Linked DNA regions of Homo sapiens: all the other regions are linked to region 1. Evidence: promoter capture Hi-C in 16 types of primary human blood cells and fetal thymus (Javierre and others, 2016). All regions are on one chromosome and are shown on one strand. Each heading gives the region's core, a stretch centred on a gene start or on the middle of the fragment in contact. The rest is flanking DNA. Distances are from core to core; before and after follow the strand shown.

Region 1 (5,283 bases), core at 791-3,290:
ATTTCTTTGTCATTTCCCCAAATATAATTACCACCTTCCATTTTGGAAACCTTTAATGAATTCTGATTGATGGGCTGGGTGTGGTGGCTCACACCTGTAATTCCAGCACTTTGGGAGGCTGAGGCCGGTGGATCACTTGAGGTCAGGAGTTCGAGACCAGCCTGGCCAACATGGTGAAACCCTGTCTCTGCTAAAAATACAAAAATTAGCTGGGTATGGTGGTGCAGACCTGTAATCCCAGAAACTTGGGAGGCTGAGGCAAGAGAATCACTTGAACCTGGGGAGCGGAGGTTGCAGTGAGCCGAGATGGGGCCACTGCACTCTGGCCTGGGCCACAGAGTGAAACTCTATCTCAAAAAAAAAAAAAAAAATTCTGATTGATGAAACACAAATTATTAATTTCACATCTGTAATTAATATTAATGTTTTAGGTCCATACTCACATGAAGAACTGTGCCTTAAAAAATATTAAAACCTTTCTTAATAATACTAGGTTTAAATTTGCCAATCTTCCACATATGCTACAAAGATGATTTTAGTCTATCAAGATGTTTATAGCGTATATTTCATTTTTTGTTTATTTAAACATTCAAAAATTTAGATGTAAACATTGTTTAGCAGCATTACTTTTTCAGTGTCTTGGATGCAAGGCATAAACTGACTTTTATGACTTTAAATATATTATCTGTATAATGTTTTAAAATTTTGCTTTTGAAGCCAGGAGCTATATTGGAAATACCACCTACATTTATTTTTTAAATGTACTGAAGAATAACACTTTTGAAACCTGTAATCCATATTTAAGTGAAATGCCTCTGTAACCAATCTTTGAAGTCCAAAAGTGTCAATCCACTAAAATGCAGTTACCTTGTTGCAGTTCAGAAGTGTGGGGAGCTGGTGGCAGGATGCAAATCCTTCCCAGACTGATGTGGCTTTTCACCACATAGTGGCGCCTGTTCTCTCTGGCCTAAATAGGGATAAGGCATTTCTGGGTCCTGTGGAGAGCACGGCCGACTCTCCAGGTGAGTGTCCATTCAGTGGGCCTATCCGGGAAGTTTGGCTAGGAATATACTGGGACTTTAGGAGCCATCGTCCGCCTCCCAGCTTCCTAGCACTGATGACTTGTTAATTCCTGCGCGTCCGGGTTCTCCCGTGGCACAGGACAAGAACTCCACTCTGTCCCCCACCACCCTGCAGCGGGGGTAGCTGGGGAGGGGATTGGCTGTTGGGCAGAGGAAAGCAACCCATTAGGTCCAGTTTCGCTCCTTTTTTGTGTGTATATTTTTACTATCAAAGTTAGTTGTGATCATCAACTCGATAAACTTGAATCAGGAATATGTCTGCACAACTACCTGTAATGCGTCTCTGTAATTAAAGTACTTTCAGAATCAATTAGTGTGAGGTGGAAGTTCATGAACCCAAACGCCCAATATAACACCAAATACACTAGGTTGGTGTAAAGATGCCATCTTCTGTTCTTTAATATACCAATTGGCAAAGCAGAGAGAAACAGGTGTCTGTCCTAGATCACAGCCGGAGACTTCTCAGCAGACCTCCTTCCTCACAGAGAGCGGCTTTGGAATGGGAGTGGGCTGGGAGGAGGCAGGGGAGGCCAAGAAGCACAAATTCATGGCTCCCCAGTGTGAGTGTGCCCGCGCGTTTCTGCGCTGGGTGACTCTAGGGGCCCAAGTTCTGTCCGGACCGGGGAGCGCGGGGCGGTAAGGACGCGGCAATTCACCTCGCCAGCGGCTTTAGTGTCGCGGTCCCGAAACCGCGGCGCCTGACAGCTGAGCTGTCCAGCGCCAGGGGGCGACCAGCCCACGAAGCGGGAACTCGAGGAGGGACCGAGGGACGCGCGGCGGCGGCTACTCTGCCGCGCTCCGCCCTTACCTCCAGGTAGTACAAGTCCACAGTAGTGATCTGCGAGTCCAGGAAATCTTCATAGGCGTTGAATTGAGTGACAATATTGTCCAAGGCCTTCAGCCCCTCTTCCTGATCCATTGCGGTATCCTCGGCCGAAGCGTCCCTAGCAACGGAAGCAGGAGGGCAGGGTCAGGAGGCTCCACCCACTTCGTTCCTGCCAATCAGTTGAAGCCGGTGTGAGCTTTGGACGTTAATCCCACCCCCCGGCGGTTTGTTGCAGTTTCTGTCTTCTGCCTCACTCCTGTGAAAACTTTCTGGAATTACCCACCCAAGTTCAGGTCGGATACCCATCCACCGACTCAGGCTTCAGTGAACTGTTGAGCAACCAGAGAGGTGCAAACTGCAATCCAAAGTTAAAAAGTATGACACTGCCTACATACTTAGACAAAATATTAGGAATTAGCTCCCAATTGCATTCTAAAACAATGTTATGCAAGACAAAAATACCGAGACATTTTGCAAAAAGACTGTCTCAAAAACAAGTATATCAAATGGTGTTGTGACAACGACAATAATAAAATAATGATTTTGTTAAATTATTTTTAAAGTTATAACAAAGGTAAATTATTGCTAATGTTTGTGTACAAGAAGCAATTTATGAAATTCCCAAAGGAAAGAAACTCAGTCAAAAAAATGTCTTTGCAGACCTTTTTTGGCACCAAGTTCTTGCACTTATTTTACTATTTTAGCACAGTGAAAAATTTTGCTGTGTTGAAGCTGCCCTTTTTAAAGAATAAAATATCTGTGAAATCTTATTAAATAAAGTCTTTCACTAAAGATTTTTTGTTTTCTTCAGAACAGTATTGTGTTTTTAAAATATGAATTTAAAGTAATCCAACACAACAGCTGGCAAAATATGTTCAGAACCAATCTTTGGATTTTAATATTTTACAAACCATCCTTGGGAATTAGCATATAATACAATGCTAAGCCTTTAATTGTTGCTCTGTAAGTACGTTTCTAATTCATCTTGAAGATTTTCACAGATTTGCTAACAAAATTTTAATGAAAACATCTGGTAAGATACTTCATTTCAGTTAGCTTTCCTAATTTAAAAAGTTCATCTTAAAAATTAGGATGTCATGACTTGCAAATTTTAAGTGATATAGACACAATATTTAGGATGCTACTAACTTGTTTTTTTGTTTGTTTAATGAATGTATTCTGACATGTTTTTAAAGATATTTTGGGCCTTATTTTTGAATGCAATTTAATTATTGAATTTGGGAAAACAAAAAGGAGATAAAACCTTGGACACTGGTAACCCATCAAAAGTAATAATAGGCCAGGTACAGTGACTCCCAGCACTTTGGGAGGCCGAGGTGGGTGGATCACGAGGTCAGGAGTTCAAGACCAGACTGGCCAACATGGTGAAATTCCGTCTCTACTAAAATTACAAAAATTAGCTAGGCATGATGGTGGGCGCCTGTAATCCCAGCTACTCAGGAAGCTGAGGCAGAAGAATCCTCCTATATCAAGATTTCATCACTTTTAAGAAACAGTAAAGCATCTAGAGAATGTTTGGGTTTATTAAACTAGAGCACTTTAATGAAAAGGACCTATATGTTAGTAAAATGTGAGGTCATGGTTTGGCTATATATTGTTCTATTATATCAATTGTGATTGTGCATTTTTTAGAGAAACCTCATTAAATTTGCCATTTGGTCAACATCTCTTTGATGAAGTAATCTCTACAGCATCTAAATTTAAACAATCATGAAATTATTTTCAGTCAATGAGTCTAGAAATGTCTTCTAACTCAAAACACTGAGGCTGATTTTCAGCAAATCAGCTTCTCTATTAATATCAAGAAAATTCATAAACTTATCCTTGTTCCTCACAGTAAGGCTAGAATTAATAGTGCGTATAACTCAATTGTCCTTTTCTAAACTTTCAATTTAACTTCAGAACCACTTTCAGACCTGTGCCTGAGAAATGAAAGGGTGGCAACAAAGAAATTAGTAAGTTTCGGCAAGCTTCTCTTTTCATTGCAAGGCTTTTGTTATGATCAAGAAATACTTTATTTTGGATAACATGCATTCCTACTTCAAGTCCAAGATTTTTAAAGACTGAAACCTGGAATTTAGCACCGATCCCAGAAATTCCATTCTTTGCAAAAGGACAAAGAAGGATTAGTATATTCATAATAAAACCCCAAGATGTAGGAAAGAGGAAACATATGTTATGTAAGAATAACAAAATATATGCCAGATTTAAGGTACTTACTTGGTGGAAGTATATTAAAAAGTTTCAAATTAAGCTCTACACTTTTATATTCCAAAATATTTGGCAATATACTATGATAGCTGACACAGTGAAAGGAAAACATACTTTGGTTTGTTGACATGACAGGAAGGGAATGTTTTGCTTATGTTAATAAGAACTTGAGGATCTATTAAGACGTTCTATTAATATGTTATCATATTGTAGGAAAAAAACATATACTTACTCTAATAGGACAAGAGATTTGTGTCTGGTGTTGCCTAGCTGCTTGTTAACTATGACTGCAGATGAGGGCTATTGCTTAATCATCAGCCAAGGAGAGCTTTTTTGCACTTAGAAACAATGGTGATACTAAATTTACTTGAGCTATTTCTCGTGATGAGATCGCTGGACTTCCTCACAGTCTCAGTTATTCTAGGATGCTGGAGTTCTGGTTCCACTGCTTCTCTGTCCTGGAGACACAATGTGTTCATGTGTCATAATCCGGGAGTTTGCTCCTGCCTTGTCATTGACAGTGTGAAAGGAAAATTTCAGAAGAGAGAAATACAAGTATAAGATGGAATTCCTCCCAGGACTGGGGTTGACAGATGTCTGCAGCTAATAAAGATTGAAAACTACTACTGTGCTATGGGATAGATGATGGGTATGATCACCACAACCACCACTTTGGAACAGAGAAAAACTTGGGCTCTCTGTGGCTCTATAAGGCATTACCAAAAACCTCACTGAAAATTCCCTCAAGCTTTTTGGCTACATGGAAATCAGCCTCTACCCTAAAACTCCACTCCCCCTGAGTGGGCAAACAATCAGAACATAGCACCTGTGAATAGACGGCCACCACAATAAATGTGGAGCTGCCAGTTGCAAGCAGGTGCCCAGCATTGCCCTACAATCTATGTTATCTTTTTCTTCAGTTCACTCTTACCTTCTACTATGGCTTTTTCCACTTTCTCCTCTCTCCTTAATCTTATATCATCCTTTCTCAAAGCAGATAAACTTAACTCTTATACCCAAAAGAAGTAAGTTATCACAATAGATTTCCCACAGTCAAATGCTGTATACAAGCTTATTCACATTCATATCAACGTTTTACTTCTTCCATTGTGTAAAGGAAGAGATTTACCTCCTTCCATACCT
Region 2 (5,283 bases), core at 1,699-4,198, 740 kb before region 1:
GGAGGAGAAATGAAAAGTCTCATTCGGTTTAAAGTTGATCTAATCAAATACTTTAAGCAGTCCCTCTAGGGCAGTGGTTCTCAGATTTTGGAGTGGAAGTTGATACATGCATTAAGACTCAGGCCACACCTTTTAAGGAGCCTGGTTCTCTCTGAGCTTTCTTAACAACCCAGGTGGATCTGACAAACAGCAAAGTATGAGAATCTTTGCTTTATGAAAATTTCAGTCTCTCTTAAACAAAAATGCTCAGATTATCATTTAGCATCTCTTCTAAATATGTTCCTTACCAAGATGGGGCCAATGTCAGTGCTCTAAGGCAGGATATCTACTTGGTTGCTGTTTGGCTGATACTCATGGTCAAAGTCTATGGCTAGGGAAGCCCATCATTTGTCTCTCCGGGCTGGGACAGGGCCCAAAGCCTCCTTCATTGACTCAGATTCCGATTGGTTATGCTAGCACTAGAGTCCTTCAGGGTTTGACTACGGTCTCTTGCGATTCTAGGCAAGATTTGCTCTGGAGAATTCACTACAAACCTACCTGCTCACTACTAAGGGAATCCCCTCTGATCAGCTCCGTAGCTGGACATTCAGGGTTATAGATTCTGTTTTCACAATGTAGAAGCCAAAAGGATTCATGATAATTATAGCTCAGGGCCTCTTGCTGCCCAGTTATGCTGCACCCTCAATATTACTATGCTACAGTCCACCCCAGGGAAGACTGTGAGGAGCCACAAACACAGGAAAGGGGGGATTTTTTTCCCTTTCTCTTTCCATAGTTTCCCAAGGGCAGAAAAATGCAGGCTTTCTCCTCTTTCTGTTATGTCTGGACTTCCCTTACATACATAAAACTCTTGTCTCTTCCACAAAGCCTGATCCTATATAAGCTGAAGGAGGAGATACAGGAATTTAGATAATCCTTTCTGAGGGCCAAAGCTTGTCCTTTGAATTTTAAAAGCTAAATATTTCCTAGGACTTTCTCAGCACAATCCTACTGGAAGTAATCCTGTCGGCAGGTGGATGATTCCAGAAAAGAGCCAAGATTTATTTTTGGTAAGCAAAGGCAAGATCACATTCATAATTTAAAAAGAGAATTATTTCCCCTTTGCAAAAATAAATAAAGCAGAAACTTTCATCACTGTGATAAATGCTATTAATACAATTAAACAGGATCATGGGACAGAATGCTGCTGAGAAGAGGTGAGAACGGCTTTGAATAAGTGGTAAGGAAATGCCATCCTGAGTCGGTGACATTTGAGCTGAAACCTGAATGATGAAAAAGAAACAGGCTTGAGACAGTCTAGGATAAAGTGTTCCAGGCAGAGAAATCAAATGCAAAAGGTGTGGGGTATTAACGAATTTGGCATGTTTCAGAAACAGAAAGCAGTCCTGTAAGTTTCCAGAATTGTGAGAGCTCAGAGAGGTAGACAGGCCCAGATTGTGAGTCTCATAGGCCACAGTAAAGTGTTTGGTTTTATCCCAAATGAAATATGAAGACATTTGATCTTTTTTTTTTTCTTTTGGAGCAGAGGAGGGATCTGTTTTACGGTTTTGAATGATCACTCTGGTGGCTATGCTAGGATGAAACATAGATTGAAGAATAAAGGAAGCAGGCAGTTGAATTACTTAATTCAGGGGAAAACTGATGGGGACTGGCTCACACTAGAGTGTCAAGTGGGTCATGGACAAAGAATACTGGGTAGACTGGAACTGTTTGGAGAGAGAGGTGACGAGATTGGATGTGAGAGTGAGGGAGAGAGAGGAAATAAGCAAGGATGATCCTTGGGGTTTTCAAAGTTCTAAGTTGGTAATTGAATGTACACAAGTATGTATGTATGTATATATGTGGGTGGGTGTGTGCCTGTGTATGTGTGTGTAAAATATCCTTTCTTCTAGTAATGTTTGCGGACTGTGGTCTCAGTTATTTTTCAAGTAGAGTTGCAGATATTGGTGATTACAACTGTATGAGGTAAAATAAAAAGAAAGGAGAATCACATTTTAAGTACTTCTGTGACACAGTGTGCTAAGTACTTTATATATGTTATCTCACTTGAAATTTTTGCCTCCATTTTATGTAGTTATTATTATTACCACATATTGGGTTGGTGCAAAACTAATTGCGGTTTTTTGTCATTACTTTCAATGGCAAAAACTGCAATTACTTTTGCAGCAACTTAATAATAGATGTGGAAGTTTGACCCAGGTTGGAAAATAAATTAGCACACTTCAAAGACTTATTCAACTAATATTTTTAAAGGACCTACTGTGTGCATGATATTTATTGTTGTTACTCAGAATGGGTAACATCATTTCCATCACTATGACCATTTATGGGGAATAAAAGAGTTTTAAATTCCCATTTTTGTGTGGTATATTTTCGGAGTCAAAACTGCTTTAAACAAAAGACCTTGCATTTCATGCACTAACTATAATATGTAATAGCTATGGTCAAAAATATTCTCCAGTATGCATCATACTGGGGTATCAGTCAAAATACCTATATTATGTACAAGCAGTGCTGTTAAGATTTTAGGTGATGGAATGTGATCAGAGTGGGAGAGTTTTGAACTTACTTAGCTTTTTATCTCTCTTCATTCAAAGTTCAATTTCTGCTACCTTTCAAGTTTAACAGAATTGGGAATACTAGCTCTTTCTTTTTGTCCTTTAGCCTATTTTTATTTAATTTTTTCTTACATTGAAATTCAACATTCACTCAATAAACATGTTTGAGCACCTATAGTACATACAATAATCCATAGAGCAACTGAAATCAAATACCACAAATAATTTCTTGGTTATGGTTGTGATTTCATATTACATATCAATGACTTGGCCTTGGTTCAGTACACTTTTTATATTACAGGGGAATATTGGATATCATATAAAAAGAATCATTGTTTAATATTAAGGGGAATATAACAAAATTTAAACTTCATGGTTGCTACAAATGTTAAATATATTTGCATACAAAAAGAGAGAAAAGACCAAAAGAAAATAACAAAAAAAAATGTTGACCTCTGAGTTGCGGAATAATAGATTCTTTTCCATGCTTCCTACCTTCTCAATATTTCTCTAAATTTTTGAAAACATATGCAATAAAAATTTTGGTCATGAACAATATTTCTTTTTTTTTTTTTGTGGTAAGAACACTTAACCTGAGATCTACCCTCTCAAGTTGTTAAGTGCATAATACAGCAATGTTAACTATAGGCACCTTGTTGCACAGCAGATCTCTAGAAGGTATTCATCTTGCAAAACTGAGACTTTATATTTGTTGAATAACAACTACTCATTTCCCCCTTGCCCCAGCCCATGTAACCACCATTCTACTGTTTCTTTGAGTTCGACTATTTTAGATACTTCCTATGAGTGGAACCATGCAGTTTTTGTCCATCTGTGACTGTCTTATTTAACTTACCATACTGTCTTCCAGATTCATCAGTGTTGTCACATGTAGCAAACTTTTCTTCTTTTATAAGGCTGAATAATTTTCCATTATATGTACATACCACATTTTCTTCATCCATGCATTCCTCAATAGAAATTTAGGTTGTTTCCCTATCTTGGCTATTGTGAATAATGCTGCAAGGAACATGGAAATGGAGATATCTCTTTCAGATCCTGATTTTAATTCTTTTGGATACATATCTGGAAGGGGGATTGCTGGATCATATAGTAGTTCTATTTTTATTTTTATTTTAGAAAACTCTATACTGTTTTTCATAGCAATGGCACCATTTTACATTCCCAACAACAGTATACAAAGGTTCAAATTTCTCCACATCCTCAGCAACAATGGTTATTATTATTTTTTGATAATAGCCATCCTAACAGGTATGAGGTGATTTCTCATTGTGGTTTTGACTTGCATTTCTCTGATGATTAGTGATGCTGAGCATCTTTTCATATACCTGTTAGCCATTTGTACATCTTCCTTAGAGAAATATCTATTCCAGTCTTGCCCACTTTTCATTGTTTTTTTTTTCCTATTGAGTTGTAGGATTCAAATAAACAAAATCAGAAATAAAAAAAGTGGACATTACAATTCATGACACAGAAATAAAAAGGTCCATAAAAACTACTATAAACAATTATGCACCAACAAACTGGTAATCTAGAAGAAACAGATAAATTCCTAGACTCATACAGCTTACCGGGACTGAACCATGAAGAAACAGAAAATATGAACAGACTAATAAGCAAGGAGATTGAATCAGCAATCAAAACTTCCAAGCAAAGAAAAACACAGAACCACATGTCTTCACTGGTGATTCTACCACACATTTAAAGAAGAGCAAACACCAATCTTTTCCAACTACTCCAAAATGATTGAAGAAAAGTGAACATTTACAAACGTATTTTGAGTCCATCTGATACCAAAGCCACACAAAAATCTCACAAGAAAAGATAATTACAGGCACAAATGTCCTTGATTAACAAAAATCCTCAACAGACTACTAGCACATCAAATTCGACAGTACTTTAAAAGGACCATACAGCATGACTAGGACAATACATCATGTACCACACATCATGGGATTCATCTTTGGGGTGCAAGGATGGCATGACATGTGAATCAATTAATGTGAAACATTACATTAACAGAATGAAGAATAAAAATCACATGATCATTTTAATGATGCAGAAAAAGCGTTTGACAAAACGTAATAGTCTTTCAGTATAAAAACTCAAAAAACTAGAGGTAAAAGGAATTTACCTCTACATAATAAAGGTCACATATGATAAACTCACAGCTCACATTATAGCAGATGATTAAAAAACTGAAAGTTTTCCTCTAAGATTAGGAAAAAGATGAAGAGTCTCACCTTCACCACTTCTATTCAATATAGTATTGGAAGTACTAGCCAGATCATTTAGGCAAGAAAAATAAATGAAAGGCACCTAAATTGAAATGGAATAAGTAAAATTGTCTCTGTACATGACTTGATCTCATATAGAAAAGCTTAAAGACTCTACAAAACAAACAAAACAAAACAAAAAACCAAAAAACCTGTTAGAAGTAATTTAAAAAGTAAGTATAATTGTAATATACAAAATCAAGATATAAAAATCAGTTGTGTGTTTATACACTAATAACAAACTCTCTGAAAAGGCAATTAAGAAAACAATCTTATTTATAAAAGCATTGAAAAGATAAAAATATTTAGGAATACATTTCACCAATGAGATGAAAGATTTGTACACTGAAAAAATATAAAACATTGATGAAAGAAATGGAAGAAGATATAAATGAATAGAAAGGCATTCGACGTAAATGGATTAGAAG
Region 3 (5,283 bases), core at 1,306-3,805, 720 kb before region 1:
GGACTTGAAGCAAACCAAAGATGGATTTTCTTTCCACATCCTCTGATGGACCTAGAGAAAATAGGCATGGTACACAAGGCAGGGAAATTCATACCAAAAAATGAAAATAAAACAAATCCCAACTACCTAAAATGATTACTGTATATAGTGTTTGCTTAAGTTTCATAACTTATGTTTATTTTAATTTTAAAAAGATAAGAGACAGTTCATATCACAAGATATGTTAGGCAAGTCACTTTTACCCCATTTCTCATTTTCCTCTAAAGGGCGCTCAACTTCCACCCCACTGGCTAAGAGAAAACAGTGCTGGGAGATACTTCTTGTTTTTTTCTTCCTCCTCTCATGGCTCTTCCCCATGGGAGAAGGAGCAATGATCCTACCGATGACAGGGTAAAAGCTGGTGGTTTGACCATTGGTTCATATTTTTAGTGGGGCCATGTTAAGATTTAAAGTTTAAGTCACCTGTGCTGTTGTTCTTTTGGCGTGTAGGGAAGGCCAGAATTTCCTGTTTAGTGGCATTGTGGAGATGAAGGGGAGGCTCTTATTAGTATACTACCTCTATTCTCCTTAGACAGGAACAGGAATTCCTTTGTACTCTCTGGGTGGAAACGGTGTTGAAGTAATATTTTCTGCTCTTGTCCCTATCCTTTCTCTTTAAGGGGAGAGACATATCTGATTGACGATGAGAAGAAATGGGAACTGAGAGTACACAGTTCAGCCTCACTTTGACTTTCCCTTTTTCAGAATTTATTTACTCAAAATGCACATTTTTCCATTTTCCAAAAATTCAACTCACTGAGACCATCTCTGTACCACCCGGGTTGACCTGAAATTGGGTGGGGAAGTTCAACTCAGGGGAAAGTTCTCAGATCCCAACACTAATCAAACATTACCCCATTATTAAAACTTTTTTTTGCTTTCTTTATGATGCGATAGTCTATTTTCCTCAAATTTCTCAGGACTCCAAGGAAAGATGGGTGAAATTACTCTGGCAGCTTTCTTTAAGTAGAGGCAACTGAGGTGAAGTGCAAAAGAATAGGACAATTGGGGTGAGATTATCGCTGCTGGAATCCCAGCCCTGATGCTACTAGCATGGTTCTGACCTAAGGTGTGTCAGTTATTCTCCTGGGTCAGTAAAGTGAGGATAATACGCACCAATACTTCTCAGGGTCAAATGAGGACTCATTCATGGAAGTGTATAAAATGCATTTAAAAAAATCAAAAAGCAAATTTCGAAGAATATTTACTTTGTGCTATGAACATTTATAAGTGTTTCATGTATAAAGGCTCAAGTAATTTTCACAGCCCTGTAAGGCAGGCTCTGTGTTTTGTTCTCATTTTACACATGAGGACATGGAAACAGAAAGAAGCTTAATAACTTGTCCAAGGTCCTACAGTAAGTGACAGAGTTGAGATTCTAACGTAAATTGTCTGCCTGTAAGCCTGTATCTATGAAATACAATATGCATAAAAATAAACTTTCATATACCAGAAATACACATATATAATATTTTAGTCTATTTTCTACAATTCATTTGGCTTTGTTTTTCGTTAAGGTATTAGATGCCTTAGTTATTTGTTAAAATATAGTAAGACAAATAATATCACCTACTTTTTATTATTAAAGTAAGAGGAAGAATGCTGTAAATAAAATGTAGGTATGAAAAGTAGAAGAGTCTCACAAACCCCATCACATGATAGAAGTGAGATAGAATCAACAATCTCCTAAGTTGAGGGACGGATGATCTATTACCCTGGTCCTTTCTTGTGTTCTCTCTTTCCCTTCCATCGTGACTTTTGTTGTTGCTTTTTTTCCCAAGACATGATCAGGAGAAAAATATTTATAAGTTGTGATTTAATATGGATGTTTGACTCATGGATTCTGGTATACTAGAGCAAAAAGGAATTTTTAACCACCACCTGGAGAAAATTAGGACATGTAAGAGGTGAAGGAACTTAGGAAAGTGCTCAAGCCCAGAGCTTAGCATTGCCATAGATTCTGATGTTGCTTCAAATGCAATTGAAAAAAACAAATATAACCCAAATTAAAATTTAAATATCATATTGTGAGAACATCCACTTTTTGTGAACAAAAGAGTATGAAGGGAAGGCTCACGGGGTTCTCACATTTTGTATGTTGTGGATGTAAATATATATAACTCTGTAACATTGTGCTTTTCCTATGTGAATATATTTTCATTTTACTGGTTGATATTCACTTGTTAATAGTTACATATAGCTAACTTCCAGTTCTGAGACTGCAGACAATGTAGGCATTAATGCTTTATATCATCAAGCACATCTCTACCCACTAAAATAGAGTTTTGTATGATGTGAGCAATCCTTGGTAATACTAAGTGGATGTGTGCTCAACGTTCTTATTCTTAACCTTAATTCCCACCATACCTTCTAATAGCTACAAAGATCAATTCTAAGTGGTATTTCAAGACAATCCTCTGGCATGAGAACTGAGGCAACTCTTTTGAAAGTATTCATTAGTCACAAAACTGGCTACCCTGAAAGTATGATGATTCCATCAATATTCCTCAAAGGCATACATCACTCTGCTACTAACTGAAAGAACCAGAATTCAAACTCAAGGTGGTATTATCTCAAGGAAGATGCTCTCTCCATAATGTTACAAAGAATTCTAATACCAGTTTTTCCAGTTGCTAGTCTTATGCAATTGGGCATACTTACTCCAGTATATCATAGTCAATACTGTTTGGTTGCAAGTTACAGATATTGGCTTAAACCAGCATAAGTACAAGTGAGTAATTGTTGAGTTTTCAGGGATAGCCAGTGCAAACCAAGGACACAAAGTTCGATTTATGAGAAAAAGATACAGGAACTAAAATATCATCAGGAAACAGAGCAGCCACTCTTTTTACTATGCAAGGCCCAATGCTCTATCCCTGGCCAATTTATTCTTCTCTCTTCACAACTAGCTTTTACAACGTTTCCACATGCCTGCTAAAAATCACTGGAAGCCTCCATTGCCAGCCATGCTGCTAAATAACCTCTCAGCTTTACCAGCATTGGTCCAATTTTGTCATGTGTCAAGGAACCATTCCTGTTGGTGGGGGCCAGTTCCAAAGGGAGGCATGATGGGTAGACATCCAAACTTACAGTATAGCATGTCTACATTTCCTCACTGGAAAATGGGAAGACTACATTAGATAATAGTAAAAATAATAACAATTGATATTTACTAAGTCTTTATTCTGTTTTAGACACTTGGCTAAGTCATTCACATGTATTATCTCATTAAACCTTGTAACAACCCTAAGAAGCAGAAAGTTTATTGTCCCATTTTATAAGTAAGATAAATGAGGCACTGAGAAGTTAAGGAACTTGTTCAAGATGATCTTTAAAATTTCCTTGTAGTTCCAAAATGCAAACATACACAGTGTTACAAAGATGGATTAAAATAATAAAAATAATATAAAAGCATATTTTATTTCTTAATTTCAGGTCATTTTTTTTCCTTAAAGAAAAAACTATGGCCTAAACAAAAAATGGCTAGAATATATCTCAATGATAAGATTAATTAAATTTAGATAGTTATCATTCTAAAAGAACAGGACATGGTAAGAATGATAGATGAAATAAAGTTATTGTCAAAATAGTGAGTCAGACATCCAGAAAGAAACAAAAGTCTCCAACTATAAAATGTGGAGTTTTTGGTTAAAAAAGAAAAGAAAATATGAAACAATTTAAGTTGAGTTTCTCAAGCTTGAAAGATATATTTTTCCTGATGGGTATATTTCAATCTTGTTTTACAACGATAATCATGTTATGTTAAGAGTAAGTTACGATGCTCCATTTAGAATACCATTTGAAAATGTTCAACTCTATGCTTAAGCTTTATTACCTCTTTTAAATGCAGCACACTTGAAAATGTCTGGAAATATAGTATTTCCCAATAAGTAAAAATGAATGGTCAATGAAGCAATTTTTATTTCCATACTGTATAATGAATAGCTTTTCATTACTGAAAGAAAATGATACAAATTCAACAAAGCTTATACATTGGTAGTGAAGTATCCTTCACAGTTTCACTGCAATATACCCTCTAAGTGGATTTGACTAAAGAACCAAACTGCATTTTGCATCTAAAAACTGTAGTAAAAAGGAATTTTTCTTGCTAAAAGTATTATCATAATTAAGGATGAAAATTATTATTATAGGAAGGCAATAGTCATTAAATAAATTAAAAGCATCTTTGAACCTTTTCCATATACATATATTATATATATATATATATTTAAAATTGCCATTGACTGTACAAGTATTAAACATTTACAGAAACTGTGGAAAGCTGAAGGGAAGGACTGGCTTTTAGAAAACAAGGATCATTTTATCACTTATAAACTACATTAAAATACAACTCAGAGGAAAAAAGAGCTATACAGAAAAGTCCAACTTACCCAAGATTTCTTATTTAATCTCTTCTTTAATCTTACACATCAGGTGTGCATAGCTATGCCTAACCCAACTTTGATTCAATAAGAAGTCAATGCCCAGACATTAGTTACTTGTTAGCACAGAGAAAAGTGAAAGCAGAAAGACTAAACTGAAAAACTAAACTGAATGAATTATACAAATATTTTTAATAAATCAGACTCTTAGCAGTATTACTCACATTTGATTGCCTATGAAAATATTAAATGGGCAATAAGAGTTTTATTCAGAAATATTAAGGTAAAAAATCTTAACATATAAATGATCATCAGTTAATATACAGCAAAGGGAATGTAAAAATTTATCTGGAATGTTATAGTCCTGAGATCTGAGGAATCCAGTCTTCCAGTTTAAGTTCTACAATCCCAAATCCTGTAAATTGTATATTATTTACACAGGTTACAACAAAGTATTTTTAAAATATTCTAATTGACTTTGGCAGTCCCTTAATTTGAATTCAAGAGAACAGTTATTGAGAAAAAGAATTCTTTTTATCAAATAAAAAAATTAGCCAGGCATGGTGGCGGACACCTGTAATCCCAGCTACTCAGGAGGCTGAGGCAGGAGAACTGCTTGAACCTGGGAGGTGGAGGTTGCAGTGGGCCGAGATCACGCCACTGCACTCCAGCCTGGGCGACAAGAGTGAAACTCCATTTAAAAAAAAAAAGAAAAAGAATTATTTTTTTCAGTAACTGACTGTGTGTGTGTGTGTGTGCACACTGCATGGGGTAGAGAGATTACTTGTGGGGGAAGAGAGAGAGAGAGTATTATGCATGATTTAGCAAATGGAGTTTATAATTGTAGCTTCTCTTTTCATGA
Region 4 (5,283 bases), core at 2,467-4,966, 670 kb before region 1:
CATTAAGTGTCTGTGTCTTTTCCAGATGCACAGTGCAAGTTGTAGGTGTATCTACCATTCTGGTGTCTGGAGGATGGTGGTCCTCATCTCACAGCTACACTAGGCAGTGCCCCAGTGGGAACTCTGTGTGGGGGCTCCCTCCCCATATTTCCCTCTGCACTGCCCTAGCAAAGGTTCTCCTTGAGGGCTCTGCCCCTGCAGCAGAATTCTGCCTGGACATGCAGGCATTTCCATACATCCTCTGAAACCTAAGCAGAAATTCCCAAACCTCAGTTCTTGCCTTCTGTACAGCTGCTGATCCAACACCATGTGGAAGCTGCCAAGGCTTGGGGCTTGCACTCTCTGAAACAACAACCTGAGCTGTACCTTGGCCAATTTTAGCCATGGATGGAGCAGCTGGGATGCAGGGTACCAAGTCCCCAAGGTCCACACAGCAGGGGGGGCCCTGGTCCTGCCCCAGAATACCATTTTATCTCTCTTAGGCCTCTGGGCCTGTGATGAGAGGGGCTGCCATCAAGGTCTCTGACATGCCCTGGAGACATTTTCCCATTGTCTTGCCCTTGTTACTTATGCAAATTTCTGCAGGGGGCTTGAATTTCTCCCCAGAAAAATGTTTTTTTTTTCTATCACATCACCAAGCTGCAAATTTTCCAAACATTTTTGCTCTGCTTCCTTTTGAACGCTTTGCTGCTTAGAAATTTCTTCCACCAGATACTCTAAATTATCTCTCTCAAGTTCAAAGTTCCACAGATCTCTAAGGCAGGGGCAAAATGCCACCAGTCTCTTTGCATAGCAAGAATGACCTTCACTCCAGTTCCCAATAAGTTTCTCATCTCCATCTGAGATGACCTCAACCCAGACTTTATTGTTCATATCAGTATCAGCAATTTGGTCAAAGCCTTTCAACAGGTTTCCAGGAAGTTCCAAACTTTCCCATATCTTCCTGTCTTCTGAGCCCTCCAAGTCAAGGAAGTTTCAACTTTCCCACATTTTCCTGCCTTCTTCTGAGCCCTCCAAATGATTCCAATCTCTTACTGTTACCCAGTTCCAAAGTCACGTCCACATTTTTGTGTATCTTTACAGCAGTGCCCCAATACCTGGTACCAATTTACTTTATTAGTCTGGTCTCACTCTACTATAAAGAACTGCCTGAGACTGGATAATTCATAAAGAAAAGAAGTTTAATTGACTCACAGTTCCACATAGCTGGGGAGGCCTCAGGAAACTTACAATCATGGAAGAAAGGGAAGCAAACATGTCCTTCTTCACATGGTAGCAGGAGAGAGAAATGAGTGCCCAGCTATGGGAGAAGTCCTTTATAAAACCATCAGATCTCATGAAAACTAACTCACTATCAGGAGAACAGGATGGGGGAAACCACCCCTATGATTCAATTATCTCCATCTGGTCCTTCCCATGACATGTGGGGATTATGGGAACTACAATTCAAGATGAAATTTGGGTGGGGACACAGCCAAATCATATCAGAGGAGTTAACTTATATTTCAAGGTCAAACAGCTAATAAATGGTACCATTAACACTGGAACTCAGACACTCAGGTTCCAGAACCTGTGTTCCTAATCCTTCTGTCACACTATTTGGAAAAATGAGTTAAGGCTAATGTCCTTACATGAGGCTAGGTTTGAATAATTATTCAACTAGCCATTTCCTAGCTGGATATCTTTGTGTGAATTATGTATGCTTTCTGAGTCTCTGTTTCCTTACTAAATATTAGTAATAATAACTGTAGTCAAAATTTTCATTCTTTGAAGACTCCGTGTTTGCAAATTCAACCTACTAGCTAAAATTTATTGGTATCCTCCAAATCAATACTGGGGCACTTTTGCAGTCATTCTTGAACATGCATGGAGTGAAAAAATGTGAGTCACCTAATCTGCACATTCCCAGCTGAGGATAAACAAGGCAACTCTGGCTTCTTATTTCAGTTCTCATACTAAAAAGAACTGTCCTTTCCACAGTCTACTGAGTGACATGTTTTTCACATTTTGTGTACTTTTGTTGGTAATTTCACTGTTTACGATGGTCCCCAAGCATGGGCTGAAGTACTGTCTAGTGTTCTTAAGCACAAGAAGGCTGTGGTGTGCCATATGGAGAAAGTACATATGTCATATAAGCTTCAATCAGCCATTACAGTAATGTGGGCCATTAGTTCAATGTAAATGAATCAATAATATAGATTATATAAGGTGTCTTTAAACAAAAACACACATAAAGCAAGGTTTTACATTGATTGGTTGATAAAATTATTGTGGCCAGAGGCTCCCAGGAACCTATTCTTATTTTTCCCTCAGGAGCAATGATTTAGTATTTGTTAATTCAGTGTTCATGGTGACTTTATAGATGTAACTATTTTGAATAATAAGAATTGCTTCTATTTCATAAGAGCATTGAATGGATTAATGAAGATCAGAAAATTGCAGTTTGATTGTTTTTTTTCTTTCAAGACTGCTGTATCATTCTAATTTAGAGATCATTTAGTGCAAATCCAACTATGTTGTTTCAATACATCATTTTTAAAAGGTATCCTTAAAAATACATGGTATAACCTACATCTTAAAGAAATTATAGTATTTTAAGAATTTTATAGTTGAAGGACATGTAATAAAAACTATTTCTTAATACATTTACTGTGAATTGTGGTATAGAATCAAGTAATTACCATTTCAAAAGACAAACTCTTACTGCTCCACTTCTAATAATTGATTGAAACAATGATAGATCAGTAAGCTTTTAAATGTCCCTACAATTGAACAGAATTCTTGAATTGTGCACTCAAAAAATTAAGATTATTAAGGGCTTTTCAGTAAAACAAACAAGAATTAACCATTGAAGAAAACTGTAAAAACTCATGTACATTGTAAAAATATTGAATTTATAGGCTGCTATCTAAACACGTCCTTTATTTGTCCACATTACTTAACTATCAATGTGGAAAATGTGATTCTTTCTCAACTCTTTTATGCTTTCATAAAATGTCTTATTAATGTATCCCAAAGACAGTAATTTCTACCATCCTCAACTCTCTTAATCTCTTCTCAAAATGTATATTTTATTCTTTGGAAGGAAATACTTTTGCATTTAAGATTTACAAGATTGGTTTCAAAAGACAACATTTAAATGCCAACCCAGTGGGATTTAGTGAGCTGATGGCGGCTCAGTTCTTTCTACTGGGAAAGTCATCCTTGGTGGATACATATGGCAAACTCCTGCTCAACCCTTGAGAAGGGGTTCAGATTTTACTCCCTTCATGAAATTTCCATAGCCAAAAGTAGCTTTCCTGTGTTCCTCAGTTGCACTCTTAATATACTGTGTTGTCTCATTTTTCACTATTATCACCTGAAGTTATTTTCTCTGTCTTCCCTACAGGGTCATGAATGGTTCCTAGCATGAAGAGGATGTTCAAGGAAGGCTTATTGAATGAATGAATGAATGAATGAATGTTACCTAAGTTCTCAGTTTTAGTGTGTGTTTAACCATAGCGTGTTGCCTTTCTTATCCAAGCCACATAACTAGTGTGTGGCATGTTGGCATTAGAGGAAAAAAAATGAAGATTTTCTCTTCTGTGAAAGGAGGTGAGTTCATGTCCTTATTGATTAAAAAAGAGGTCATTCTCAAATATGTTTTTTTCCTCCAACACTTACTTTTTTTAAGGAGTGATGAAGGGCATCTCCATCAATTGTAAAACAAACTGTTAGCTCTAATGCAGTGTGTGTTAACATTATGGATCTTACTGATGAATTTAAGATAAGTAACATTGAAGTCTAAGCCCCACTCTTGACCCCAGTGCCTGGAGAGCTGTGAGCATTCTGACATGTCTTATCAGTTACCTCAATTTAAGGAAAACTTAATGAACTTACTGATTTCTTGGTGTTATGTGATTCTTAGAATAATTTAGGTCACTTTTATTAGGAAATTGACCTCTATCATGTGGCCTTTCTTAACTAAATTTTTTGTGCTCCCTTCTTCCTCTCTTACTCTCTGCAATTGTCCCCAACTTTTGCCAGTTCTGACAAAGATCTGATCGCTTGTTTTATACTCTCATTGACACCACTCTAATTCATTTTCCTTTGTCCTCATAACTATGTTAATGCAGCAACTTCAAGAAATAGGTTTCCAACCTTCCAAATTCTTGATTCTCCCTCCCATCTATTTTGCACATAGCTAATGTATTCGTCTTTCTGCAGTATAAATTGCTTCTGCCTTTCCTCTGAGAAAAACACGTTTAATGATTCCTCATTGCCCATCTAATTAAGAATAAAAGGCTTGGGCAACTCAGGGAATGATCTTCCAGGGAGACTCCCAAATACTCTTGCATTTCTATGATCTGGCCAAAAAGTTTATGCTCTCTGTCCATTTTTGCTCACTGCTTTATCCTTAGGACACAAAATTGCATGTGGCACATTAGTAAGCACTTATACATAAGTTTTGGTTGAACAAATCAATTAAGAAAACTGATTTTAAATTCCCTTTGACTTGGTTTTATCTCTAAATGAAATACATAGTTCGATGATACTTCATGCAGACATACATGTAGTCACATACAAAGGCACTATGTATCTGTGGGAGACACGAAGCTATTAATTTAGTTCTAGCTCTGCTTTCCATCCAATCTACACATATTTAAGTTTCTTTAGCACTTTGCCTTTATACATTAAGCTTCCCAGAAATAGCAATGGTTTGTTGATGATTGATTTTGTCGTAGTCTATAAGCATATCTAGATGTTGTTTTTATTCATATTTCAGGATGTCTTAAAGTGAGGAAGTGATGAAACAATGGGACATGTGATTATTTGGCTTTTCCTCATTTCCTCCAGGCCCATTGCTAGCAAATCTTCAGTTTTCTTCTCTGCCATTATTCAGTGAGTAGGAAAGGTTAATGGGAAATCTCTTCAGTAAATATTACCTCAATTCAGTGATTTTTCTTTTCTATTGCATTTCCAGTGATACCACTTTTCTGCTCCATACTTGAGTTTTCTAAGCCTGCTTTATTTCTAACCCAACTTTTCACTACAAGGAGAGGGAATATCTGGTTCTTATCTCATCAGGTGCAGTGTTATTTTATATTGCTAAAGCAGCATAAACCAATTTTTACTATTTTTGCTTCTCTTGAGAAAACTTAAGGAAGCATAGATCAATTATTACCGTTTGCTGCCATTTACCATTATGCTGCCAATTGTTAAGGAGGCGTAGATCAATTTTTACCATTTTTACTTCAGTTGAGAAGAGCCTTTCAATTCTCACTAGTTGACCACTCTACCCAT
Region 5 (5,283 bases), core at 1,115-3,614, 650 kb before region 1:
TTGAGCCTGTTACATAATATGTGCTCACTAGATATGTTTTGAACACATTAATTAATAAATAGGGAACAGTATGATATCTCAGACTGCTTGGTTACTACTAAGTTTTGCCCACACCTATTTTATGGGCAAGAAATCTTGAAGCTGGACAATTCACAACTGCAGAGACATGGAATCAATCTAAGTGCCTCTCAATCAATGAGTGGATAAAGAAAATGTGATATAAGTATACCATGGAGTATTACTCGACCATGAACAAGAATGAAATAATGTCTTTTGCAGCAACTTGGATGTAACTGGAAGCCATTATTCCTGAAGTAACTCAGGAATGGAAAACCAAATACTTCATGTTCTCACTTATAAGTGGGAGCTAAGTTATGAGGAAGCAGAGTGGTAAGACATTGGAGACTCAGAGAGGAGAGAGTGGAAGAGGGGTAGGGGATGAAATATAATACTATCTACTGGGTACAATATACACTATTTGGGTGACAGGTACACTAAACCCTTGGACTTCACCACTATGCAATTCATCTGTGTCATCAAAAGCCACTTGTATTGCTAAAGCTAGTGGAATAAAAATAAATAAGTAATAGGACAACACAACAAAAATGAAATCTTGAAGCTGGAAGGATGGCTTGAAAGTGAATTTAAAATGTTTGGATCCTTAAAGAGCTGCTTATTGGGACTGACTAAATATTTGCATCATTAGAATGTGATGTATATTAAACTCCTTTAATGAACAGACAGGATAAATTCCTCATTATTGAATTTTGGAATTTTCTGAATAATCACTGATTGTACTCTGTTTCTTTATGGTAGAGTTTTAATTTTACATAATTGAACATGACTCATGATGTACTCATATTAGAAAGTGAGTCTATTTCATAATACTGAATCTCTTTGGCAGTGGAAAGCTTATTTCTTCTTTATTAATTTGATTAGGAAGCCCCCGACTATTCTTCTATAATAATAATGGCTCTAATGTTTTTGATCTGTGTCTGAGGTCATTTATACTGCAAGAGCTTTTATGCATATTTTCTAATTTTTCACTTCCTGAGTTTTAGGACATCTATTAAAATATTATGTAATTAAATTTAAGAAAAGGGAAGGAAAAACGTGTCTCCCTGGGGAGAAAAATAATTTCCTTAATTGAGTTTTTAAAAATAAATACTTGAATTTTATAGAACCCTAGAACAATTCTTTAAGGGCTTCTTCCTCTTCCTACTAGTTAAATCTTACTTAAGCTGGAAAACAGGTGCGTGTTTTTAGACCAAAGAAAAATCATAAAATGCAAATATTCAACTAATTCTATGTGCTAATATTTTTGACTAAACATGTAATATGGATAATGTTATGAACATCAAACTCAAACATGTAGCTGTTTTGTTTTTCTAAAGCTTAGGCCATCTTTAACATTCCTGAGTTTCTGAGACACTAATCATATTTATCTGCTGAATAGTCCCGAAGTGTTTCTAGCTAATGAATAAGTTTTTAAATTAGAAGAAGTCTGAATTGATAAAAGCTGGATGTATTTGTCCATGTGTGTTTATGTGTCTTACTCTTTGACAATACATTTTGAATGACTAGAATGCTCTTCAATGGTCATTTTGATTGTGTATATTAACATGGCTCTCTCTACGTGGAGGCAGGGTGATTGCTAGGCTAGGATAGAGTCTGGGACTTCTAAAGAGAAAGCAACATTTTATAAATAAGATTATTTGGTTTAGTGTATTTTCTTTTATATGATGTATCAAATTTGGTCTTGTGTTATTTCTTTTTTTTTCTCTTCTCCTTCTCCACTTCCCACCCTTCTTTCTTCTTTTTGCCATCTCCAAGAATTTAGTAAAGTATTTTAATACTGCAATTTTACTGCTGTCTACATGTATTTAGTCAAGTCTGTTTAATGAGTTGGCTTATTCCCAACCAGGCTAAGAGCAACCAAGGGAAGTCATGAATGCACACTGAGTTGACATGGATAAGGAGAGAGCAGTATCCCTTGAGGCTGCTGAACTCAAGCAGCCATAATTGACAACCATTTTCCCATATGAAGGGTTAATCTCAGGAGAATAAAAACCAAGGCTACAATTCCTAGTCACTGCTTTCCCTGGGATGAGTCTTTTTGTATCTTCAGCCTTGAAAAATTTTAGTTTATATTTAGGAAATAGAGACAGTAGTCCCATAGCCAGGTACTGAGCTAACAGTTGGAGCATATATAAAGAAGAACAAAGTATGGTACCCAAATTTAAGGAATTTGAAATAAGAAAAAATATGAATATTTGTATTATGTTATAATTTACAAGGCACTTTACCACATAATTTTGTATGGATTATGTGATTACTATCTGAATTTTACAAATGAAGACATCTTTTGTCCTGGGTGATAAAGGTAGAAGGCAACAGGTAACAGTCTGGGTGATAGAGGTAGAAGAAATTCGTTGTTTTGTTCTAACTTCACAGAAAATGTTCTTTAAACTATTGTATCATGTAGTGTTTTCTTTTTGTCTTTTCCTTAAAATTTCCAATTTATGAAATATTTAAATAGACACAAAGTTCAGGAAACTTTATGTATACATATACATATATATACATGCTACTACAAAGAAAAAGAAAATGTTAATTTTCCCCCTATATTTGTTTCAGGCTTTTTTTTCAAAAACCCTTGTTTTTGAAAAAATACATTTACATTGTTCAAAAACCTAAATAATATAAACAAATATACACTCGAAAGCATTGTTCTAACTTCCCTCTACATCATACTCACATGCTATAGGTAAGCACTTCTATTCGCTCCTGTTTTCTTGGTTTCTTGTTCCAGCAAAGAACATCTACTAACATCTTAATGGCAGGGCTACACTGATTACAAATACAAACAGATCTTGGACATTACACTGTGAGACAGATAATAAAGAGACATACAAATAATGAAATTATTACAAATTGCAATAACTTCCTTGAACAGAATAATGGATTCTGAGAGGTCAGTAGCTCCCAAATCTGAATCAGCACCTGCGCCATCACTTAAAAAATATAATATGATCATACACTCACACTACAATGGTAAACTACATACTATGGAAAATCGTGAAGTAAAAAGAACATATATCCCCCAAATGCTTTTCTCCTGAGGTTGTGTGAATATGTACTGCTCAAGATATTTTATAAATAAATTCAAATATATATATACTAAAATGTTAAATATGACTTTTTCTTGTTTGCTCAGAATTTCTGCCAAGGTGCCAAAAGCCTAGAACAATACAATAGGTGCAAACTATGCCCCACATCATAAAGCATGGTACTCGATTTTCTATTCAGTGTGTACAAAAGCCATAAAGCTTTTTGGCTCCATTGGCCCTTTACCCATCATGGGCTACAAAAAAGAAATTTGGGGAGAATAACATTTTTGGAGGGGTGTTTTTCTGCTTTATGGATTTCTTTCCCCATTGAGAGGAACTTGGGGGATTGTTCTTCTTTGTATTAGCCCAAGTGAGAAAGGATGTTTCAAGAAAATTACTTTTCAAGAGAGTTACAATTATGTTGTCTGGAGTTTGGAAGACACAAGGATCAGTAGCTGACTCCTGTCTGCAAAATCAAGGGCAAGAGAATCTTGAGGGACAGAGCACATAGAGGGCTGCAAGTGCCTATTTTCTGAGAACAAAGACTAGAGGGGAGGGCAAATGCGGGTGAGAGAGGAGGCAGCCTATCAGGGATCATTTTAAAAGGAATCTTACCTAAGAGGCAGTCAGGAGGTGCTTATAACCCCAACTGAAGCTTGGACCCTCTGAGTCCCATGACTGGAGGAATGACCTAAACAGTCAGCCAGAGGAGTATGAGAAAGAGCACAGCAAGGGTGCATCCATCACAGTTGGGGAACCAACGCTAGGTTACAACTTCATCGGCCACCCAAGGCTATGTCCTTTCTCCCTAATCTCCTCTCCTTGCAGCCAAACCCTAGAAAGATAAGAAACAGCAACTATCAAGCAGGAGAGGTGTACTATAACAGCAAGAAAGAGTATACAAGAAACTATATTCTCCCTTATTCTAGGCTTCCAAGTTTGAAGCTAGCCATGGTCTTGGGGCTCGGGGAAGTGGGAGTTATCAAAAGTTTTTCACCAACATCTTATTTATGTTATAGTCATACTTATAGCTTGGTGTACAAATATTAGGGAGGGGTAGTTTTAAATCAATTTTTTTTTTATTATTATCCTTGACTAGTGTTGGTAAACTGAATCTTTCCCTCCAAACTCAGGTTTTTAGTGTTTGCCAATTTTCATGGTGTAAATACCCCCACCACAGTCCATATCAAGCTACCAAAGTTTTAACAACTACCTTGAAGAATCCCTGAATAGTAAACAAGTTTAAAATTTAACTGAGATGGTGTAAGCTAATTGAATTTGTTTTTGACTAAGCAAAGAACAGAAAAGCTATGGGATGATTTTCTCCTCCTGAAGTCTTAGGAAGGAGTTGGTGCTGGGGAGAAAACAGGCCCACTGAATCAGTTTAGCAGTGAGTGGTGAGAAAGGTTTATGTATTCATATTATTGCACTCGTCTCACTGAGTTTGAATATTTATGGAACGTGATGTTAAAAGGGATTTTTTCCTAAATGTTGGTAAAAGCTGAAAGCTAAAAACAGTAAGAGATAAGTATTACTGTATTCTAAAGAGAATTACCCGATTTATCTCCTCATTCTACATGGTGACCAAACTTGGTCAACCATGTGGTAATGGAAATGCGGTAATGAAAATCAGTGATTTCTTCCCACCTGGAGAATTCTGCAAGAGGGAAGTTAGCAGATTTAAGAAAGAAGGTTGCAGTTGGGTAAAATGTCCTTCCCTTCATTGGCAGGAAAATAAAATATGTCATTTCCTGAAGGGTAAATGGTATTTAGAACAGGATGTTGGTCTGAGACATCTTGAAAGGAACCCACCACAGGGGGCTGCCTGCCAGGCCATGACACCTCAAATGAAAAGGGCTATCTCATTATTTCTTTTTTTTCTGGTTTGGTACTGTATTTATTTTATTTCAATAGGTTTTTGGAGAACAGGTGGTGTTTTGTTACATGAACAAGTTCTTTAGTGGTGATTTCTGAGATTTTGGTACATCCATCACTCGAGCAGTGTACACTGTACCCAATGTGTGGTCTTTTATCCCTCACCCCACTCCCACCCTTTCCTGAGCCCCAAAGTGCATTGTATCATTCTTATGCCTTTGCATCCTTATAGCTTAATTCCCACTTATGAGTGAGAACATGCAATGTTCGGTTTTCCATTCCTGAGTTACTTCACTTA

What was found. The method cuts DNA at HindIII sites, captures the fragments that hold promoters and counts their contacts. A CHiCAGO score of 5 or more calls a contact.
Region 2: a fragment that was not itself captured here is called in contact with the fragment with the promoter of CFAP299 in region 1 in 4 of 17 cell types (M2 macrophages, total B cells, naive CD4 T cells and 1 more); the score reaches 7.8 in M2 macrophages.
Region 3: a contact is called between a fragment that was not itself captured here and the fragment with the promoter of CFAP299 in region 1, in 7 of 17 cell types (naive CD4 T cells, total B cells, naive CD8 T cells and 4 more). The highest score is 11.1, in naive CD4 T cells.
Region 4: a fragment that was not itself captured here is called in contact with the fragment with the promoter of CFAP299 in region 1 in 5 of 17 cell types (total CD4 T cells, non-activated CD4 T cells, naive CD8 T cells and 2 more); the score reaches 7.5 in total CD4 T cells.
Region 5: a fragment that was not itself captured here is called in contact with the fragment with the promoter of CFAP299 in region 1 in 4 of 17 cell types (naive CD8 T cells, activated CD4 T cells, fetal thymus and 1 more); the score reaches 8.6 in naive CD8 T cells.

What each region holds. Positions count from the first base shown.
Region 1 is chr4:80,332,487-80,337,769 of GRCh38, reverse strand. It overlaps CFAP299 (cilia and flagella associated protein 299), which reads right to left and starts at 2,040. Exons shown (of 6, transcript NM_152770.3): 1 at 1,891-2,040. The coding sequence starts at 2,001. RefSeq lists an enhancer at 1,899-2,048. The HindIII fragment of the contact is 3,926 bases long and covers 1-3,901 here.
Region 2 is chr4:81,073,365-81,078,647 of GRCh38, reverse strand. No RefSeq gene overlaps it. Among named protein-coding and RNA genes, the nearest start is that of BMP3, 45 kb to the right of the region's middle. The HindIII fragment of the contact is 4,027 bases long and covers 935-4,961 here.
Region 3 is chr4:81,056,192-81,061,474 of GRCh38, reverse strand. It overlaps BMP3 (bone morphogenetic protein 3), which reads right to left. Exons shown (of 3, transcript NM_001201.5): 3 at 3,848-5,283. Among named protein-coding and RNA genes, the nearest start is that of BMP3, 28 kb to the right of the region's middle. The HindIII fragment of the contact is 2,365 bases long and covers 1,373-3,737 here.
Region 4 is chr4:81,004,238-81,009,520 of GRCh38, reverse strand. No RefSeq gene overlaps it. Among named protein-coding and RNA genes, the nearest start is that of BMP3, 24 kb to the left of the region's middle. The HindIII fragment of the contact is 1,929 bases long and covers 2,752-4,680 here.
Region 5 is chr4:80,982,872-80,988,154 of GRCh38, reverse strand. No RefSeq gene overlaps it. Among named protein-coding and RNA genes, the nearest start is that of BMP3, 45 kb to the left of the region's middle. The HindIII fragment of the contact is 1,935 bases long and covers 1,397-3,331 here.